Linked DNA regions of Homo sapiens: region 2 is linked to region 1. The links are contacts of gene promoters, found by promoter capture Hi-C in blood cells and fetal thymus (Javierre and others, 2016). All regions are on one chromosome and are shown on one strand. The core of a region is centred on a gene start or on the middle of the fragment in contact, and the rest is flanking DNA. Distances in the headings are between cores, read along the strand shown.

Region 1 (3,272 bases), core at 773-3,272:
AAGCACAGCTATAGGAAAGTGTGTCACACCTGAAAAAGCTCACAGGTGCCAGGGCGAAGCAAAGAAAACAGCTCAACACCCTAAATGCAACCACCTTTTGTAACCCAGGAGTTGGGAGGGGGTGACTCATTTTGAACCTATAGTAAAAGCCAAACACACACCCCAAATAACCAAATAACCAGTTTGGTGCATCAAACTATGAAAAGCATACTACCAAGGCGTCCAGGAGGGAGGCACCGAGGCCTCCATGAGAGTACTAGGAGCAAAACAAGCAAACAGGAACACAGTGAGCTACATACCACCAGGGGCGGAGCCACAGAACCTTGCACAGCGGCAGGCGTGGAGTAGGCTCAATAAACATTTGTCAAATTAATCTGCATGAGAGATCTGGGACAACAAAGATGACTCCAAGTTTTTCAACCTGTATTAAGGAAACTGGTAGCGCCAGTATCCAAAATACAGCACACCGGTCTAAAAGGAAAGGCAAGCTCTTACGTGGATCTACTGGTAATACAGAGCCCAGAATTTAGAGGCTAGAACGGGCAAGAGGAAGGGCAGAGGGGCAAAGCATAAAGGATGTTATGAGTCATGCCGGTGGCTATGTAAGACCGCAAGAGGGAGCTGGGCGGGGTGGAACATGCAGAGGGCAGAAGAGGATCCAACGAAAAGGGCAGACGAGGAAGAGGAAAAGAACCAGAGAAGGTCTCAAGGAAGAAGCGGTCGGCCTTCCAGTGCTGGAGAGGTTAAGGAATGAGGCCCCGGAGGACACCTGGAGAAGGTGGCCCATAAATTAGAGGAGGTGCAAGGGGCAAAGGTATGGACTGCAGCCCAGTGGTTTAAGAAATTAAGGGCTTTAAGCTGAGGCAGTGTGAAGCCTAGCTCTGCCAAAAACTGGGAAGCTGGGCAGATTCCTTGACCTCCATGACCCTCGTTTTCCTCACTTGTGTGTGACATGGGCTGCCACGTCATATCATGGTATCTGACATTCTCCTGCCCTCAAAATAAAATCCAAACTCCTAATGGGCCTACTTCTCAGACCTCATATGGTGATCTCCGCACCCAAACACACCCACCTGCCTCCCACCCCAAGGGTCACAGGCTCCCTTTGTGTTCTCTCTACCTAGCACAAATGTCTGCATGGCTAGATCCTTCCTTCTTACACGGCTCACACAGAGAGGCCTTTCCTGACCACAACACTGCATGTCATTCCCACCTATCCTGTGGTCGGCTCGACCCAGGAACAAAGGTCCATGGCAGCAGAAACCTTGGGTTTGCCTGTTTTGCTCACTGCTCTCTCCAGTGTGGAGTTACGAAGAAATGAGCACATGCTGCTTTCACGACCCCTGGTACATGTAACCCATCTTCTGTACCAGCTCCAGGGGCCAGTGTTTGGCAGGTGTCTAGTAGCGGTGGGCCCCCTCAAACCTCACACTTATTTGCAGATTACGGGAGGCACTTGGCTGGCCGAGACTCACGATCAATGACTGCTTAGTAAATCCCGAGCCCCTGCCATGGATATCAAGGTCGCAGAACGAAGGTCCTACAACTTCCTGTCTACTTCCTCAGCTCCTTCCCCAAGTCCTGGATGTCAAAGCTGAACGCGCTGCACAGCGGGGCCTGCGGCCCTGGCCACGACTGCAGTGGCTACCCCGGGGCCACGCGCCATCCCTAGGCCCAGGGTTGGCAGCCTCGCCCCCCTCACCTCCCCCGTGTGCTTGCACAGGTGCGCGTCAAGCTTCCAGGCTTTGCTGTAATTGGCGCTGCAGTCAGGGAAGGAGCAGATGAACCTCCTGGGAAGCGCGGGGCGCGGCGGGGTCGGAGCTGAGCTCTCGCCGGCTGCAATGAACGCGTCGGCGATGGTCAAGGACGACACCGACTCGGCGACCACGGCCGGCGGATCCAGGGCGCCGGCGCCTCCAAGCCCAGGGCCAGGCGCGCTGCCACGTGCCGAGACACGTGCCGGGAACCGGCGCGCCCGGCCCACGGCTCCCTGCTGAACCTTCGCGCGACGCCGGCACACTTCCGGGAGCGCGCGCGGTCACCAGGCACCGCCCCGCGTCGGCGCCGCTGCTGCGCATGCTCCGGGAGATCGCGCATGCGCCAGGAGGCCCCGCCGCGGCTCGCGGCCCGTGCCCTGTCAGCCCTGGATGAGAGGCGGGGGTTTCTGCGTCCTCGGCAGAAGGCTGCTGCGTTTCACAGGCAACTCAAATCCCGAGGCACTGCTTAAATGGGGCTTGTTTCCCGTCCTCCAGTACACTCTGGAAAGCACTAGCCTTACATAATTTAAGTTAGCCTGTTGCCACATTACTAGTGTGACCTGTGTGGTTTCGTTTCTTTGCGTGCTTTACGTGCTTCTGCTGCAAGCCCCAGTTCAGAGGTTCCTAAGCTCAGATTCACGTGGAGAGCTTTACAAAATCCCGAAGCCTAGAGGATACTTGGACCACTTAAATCACAATTTCTGGGGGTAGGAAACAGGCATCAGTATTTTTGGAAACTTCCTAGGTGATTTCAATGCGCAGAAAAGTTTGGGAACCACTATCCTGGCACAGTAGTGCGCACCTGTAGTCCCAGGTACGCGGGCGAATCGCTTGAGCCCAGAGTGAGACCCCGAGCTCTAAAAGAATAAATACAGATGTCTCCCCATCCTACCCTTCCCCACCCCGGCAAACTGACCAGGTGGTTGGAAAAAAAAAAAAAAAAAAAGGAAAAGTTTGGGAACACTGCCCTAGAGCCTTGATGACCTACTTGAAACAAATCTCCAGGTGATTCAGTGCATATCAAAACCTGAGAAGCACTTTTGAGAGGCCTGAATGAATATGAGTATCTTAGTTTATGAGGACCACATGCCTAAAAAATGTCCTTGGATACAGATAACTGGCAGGATGACTTGGGGGATGTTCGCCAGATCCATATTTTTCACATCCTGCATTATTCCGAATCATTAAGCCCTTGTCGGAATGTGATGAACAGGTCCCTGCACAGCAGTGCAGTTCTGGAAACAAGCCAGGGCTTAACATCAGTGCTTATGAACTGAGTATTCCAGTTCATAAACACTCCTTTGCCTCAGTCTGCTCATCTTGAAAGTGGGAAAGTTGATAACGCCTGTGTCATCCTCCGTCTCAAGATAACGGGGCTGTGAGAGTGTCTATGCCTTGGGTCCACCTGTTGCTTTCTTCATTTGCCACTCTAGCCCCTGTCCATGGATGGGAGAATTCTACACTCATCCCTCCCACAACTCCGGAATTCTAAAATGGTTTCTCTTGCGCCAGTTC
Region 2 (3,641 bases), core at 187-2,686, 1.2 Mb after region 1:
ATTGTTATAATTGCCTCCCTTGCCACCATCAGCACTTCTCACCTGTCCTTGTGAACCACCAGTTTACACTTATAGAATCTAGTTTTGCATCAGCAATTGAGGTCACTTCGCCTTGGAGCCACTGCATCAATCTGAAAGTCTCCATGAGCCACAAGACAGTTGTGATGGTCTGGATGGCAGCCTGCAAATGAGCAGTTACACTCTCTAGAATTCCTAGACTATTAGGGCTGAAGGGACCTTGGATATTAACAGGTTCAAGTCCATTTCACCCAGATGATGAAACTGATGCCCAGACACCTACAGAATCTTGTTTTAGATCACTTGTTGACTTCTAGTTCTATTTTTTGACACCTAGTGTCCAGTGTGCTTTACACTTCAGGCCACTGTGGTCTCAAATAGAGCTAGGAACCAGGTGTGGTGGCACACGCCTGTAGTCCCAGCTAGTTGGGAGGCTGAGGCAGGAGGACTGCTTAAGCCCAACAGTTCAAGGCTGCAGTGAGCTAAGATTGCACCACTGCACTCCATCCTGGGCAACAGATAGAGACTGTCTTAAAAAACCCCCAAAATCAAATAGAGCTGGGGCTAAACATTTAATAAACTCCAGCCTCTGGAGTCCAAGAGATCTGCATTTGAATCCTGACTTTGCCACTGATTGGCAATAAGACCTTGGGTACGTTACTTAACCATTAACATACCCACTAAGTCACCCAATAAGCTTCCAGAACTTGGCCTAATCCCTGGGGAGGGGACCGCAGGAAGAACTAGGGTAATTTTTCTTTTATAACCAGTTCACCAGAGGGGGCCAGGGAAGGGTGGTCGTATGTAGCCCAGAGGAGTCAGAAATTCACCTGAAATCCAGAAAAGAGGCATTTTTCTTGCACACCAGAGCTCACGGGCTGACATTCTCACACTGGACATCCCAGTAAGCCTCCTGCTCCGCGATCCCCAAGGCCATCAGCCTTGCCTGACCTCCAAACGTTTCCCCCTTCTTGTGCCGGCTTAATTTTCCAGGGCTTTCCCCCTTTCTATTCGTCTCCTATCAGGTTCCCGGTCCGAAGGCTAGGACGCCCCACGTCGCAGCCAGGAGCAGAGGCGCCCAAGGTGGCGGTACAAGCCGTCTTCAGGCCTGTGGCCCCACTGATGGCAGAAACAGGAAGCGGGGACAGCCCCAGTCCCGGACCTCAGGCCAAGCAAGGCTCTAGAAAGGTCCCTGACGCTTGCCGGGCGCGGTGGCTCATGCCTGTAATCTCAGCACTTTGGGAGGCCGAGGTGGGTGGATCACGAAGTCAGGAGATCGAGACCATCCTGGCTAACACGGTGAAACCCCGTCTCTACTAAAAATACACAAAATTAGCCGGGCGTGGTGGCGGGCGCCTGTAGTCCCAGCTACTCGGGAGGCTGAGGCAGGAGAATGGCGTGAACCTGGGAGGCGGAAATTGCAGTGAGCCGAGATCGCGCCACTACACTCCAGCCTGGGCGACAGAACGAGACTCCGTCTCAAAAAAAGAAAAAAAAAAAAAGAAGAAGAAAGGTCCCTGACGCTTCCCTGCCCTCCCCGGAGCCGGCGCTCTAGCGCCCCCGGGATCGACGGTCAGCACAGCGAAGGAACGCGCTACCTGTGGCCGAAGGTATAGCGCCGCTGCGGGCCCTGTGAGAGCTGAGAAGACGACGGCGGCCGAGGAGGCCCAATTCCGAGGCTCGGCCCCGTCAGGGTCCGCGCTGGCGGTGTGCGCGTGTACGTGCGCTCGTGCACGTGCATGTGTGTGCGCGCGCCCTAACAGACCTGCTCCGAAGCGTCTCCGCTGACTGCCAGTCGGTAGCGCGACTGGCTGCGGGGCCCACGTGCCACGCAGACGCCCCCCGGCGCGTCCCGCTCTTGCTCTGCGGCCCAACGAGCGCGTTCCTGCCGCGGGACAGCCTTGCAGAGAAACGCGGTCTTACACACGCACTGGCCTCCCGGTCTGGGTTTTTAACTGCTCAAAGCTCCACGCGCCCTGGCGTCTCCACACGGCACTCCAGATGTGTCAGATTTCCAGAAATGTTTTGATCGCTTGCTTTCACTTCTCTTTTTAAGATCTGTTTTTGAACTTTTCCTCTGCGTTGTGTGTATCATGACTCTGACACGTTTTAGGGCCGCGAGGCGGGTGATGAAGCTTTGACATGGGCGCCTTGGTGAATGACCTGAATTCTTACTCCCGAGTAAATCGTCTGACTGGCTTCCCTATCGCATTTTAGGGTTAAAACATACATTTTGTGTTTGTTTCATATCTATGTTTATGTAGACTGCAAGTTTCATAAGGGCACGGGGTGGGAGGGGCTATGGCTCTTTTGCCTCTTACTGTATTTTCAGAACCTAGCAGAAGCTAGGACATAGTGTGTGTTCTCTAAATAGATATTGAATGTGAGGGAGGAAGGAACTTTCCAGAAGTGTGACCTTTGGTTTTGGAAAGGCACAAGGTTCGTAGTTAGGCGTAGAGAACACAAGTTTAGAATCATGGCCTCTACACTTCTGTTGACAATGCATTACTTTAAGTAACAACTTTTTTTTGAGACAGGGTTTCGCTCGTTTTGCCCAGGCTGGAGTGCAGTGGCACGATCTCGGCTCACTGCAACCTCCGCCTCCCGGGTTCAAGCGATTCTCCTGCCTCAGCCTCCCAAGTAGCTGTGATAACAGGCGCCTGCCACCACGCCAGGCTAATTTTTTGTATTTTTAGTAGAGACGGGGTTTCACCATGTTGGCCAGGATAGTCTCGATCTCTTGACCTCGTGATCCGCCCACCTCGGCCTCCCAAAGTGCTGGGATTACAGGCGTGAGCCACTGTGCCCAGCCAAGTAACAACTTTTTTTAAAAAAAATGCACTTCAAATGTATATGTATATGTATTTATTTATAAGTTATAAAAATGTAATGCATGCTCATATATATATTTATGTATTATTACAAAGAGCACACCAAATAGAAATTTTAAAAAGCTAAAATAAAAATAATACCTTGGTCGGGGATGATGGCTCATGCCTGTAACTCCAGCACTTTTGGAGGCCGAGGCGGTCAGATAGCTTGAGCCCATTAGTTCGAGACCAGCGTGGGCAGCATAGTGAGATCCCATCTGTACAAAAAATAATTTGAAAAAATTAGCCGGGCATGGTGGTGTGCGCCTGTTGTCCCAGCTGCTTGGGAGGCTGAGGTGGGAGAATGGCTTGATCCTGGGAAGTTGAGGCTGCAATGAACCGTGTTTGTGCCACTTCACTACAGCTTGGGGTGGCTGAGTGAAATCCTGTCTTAATAGTCAATCAATCAATCAATCAATAAAATGATAACAATACCTACAAGTTCTAAAATAATTTCCTGCAGCGCACTTTGGAGCTCACTAGGTAGACAGTTTGTAGGGAGAGGGCTGCCCTCTACTGGTGGAGGGCAGCTAAGGACATTTGCTTTGGATCGCCTGCCTTCTGCAGGAGTCCACAGATTTATCCTTTGTGGCCTGCACAGTGTGTATGCTTAGCATTCAATCTACGTTATTTTCACTCATAGAAAATGTAAGGTGAGGCATTGTTTTAAGCCAGAACAGCTTTAAAAGGCAGAGATACTCGTATTGTGCAGTCATTATGGACCAGGAAACGTTGAAACATCTGCGAGTAGAA

The links. The method cuts DNA at HindIII sites, captures the fragments that hold promoters and counts their contacts. A CHiCAGO score of 5 or more calls a contact.
Region 2: a contact is called between a fragment that was not itself captured here and the fragment with the promoter of GTF3A in region 1, in 1 of 17 cell types (activated CD4 T cells). The highest score is 5.2, in activated CD4 T cells.

The regions. Positions count from the first base shown.
Region 1 is chr13:27,423,369-27,426,640 of GRCh38, reverse strand. GTF3A (general transcription factor IIIA) reads right to left here and starts at 2,022. Exons shown (of 9, transcript NM_002097.3): 1 at 1,703-2,022. The coding sequence starts at 1,903. RefSeq lists enhancers at 348-567, 1,518-1,587 and silencers at 1,678-1,757, 1,858-1,917, 1,928-2,197. The HindIII fragment of the contact is 2,756 bases long and covers 1,738-3,272 here.
Region 2 is chr13:26,184,654-26,188,294 of GRCh38, reverse strand. It overlaps a transcript of RNF6 not described here. Among named protein-coding and RNA genes, the nearest start is that of RNF6, 36 kb to the left of the region's middle. RefSeq lists enhancers at 1,881-1,930, 1,981-2,150. The HindIII fragment of the contact is 1,438 bases long and covers 718-2,155 here.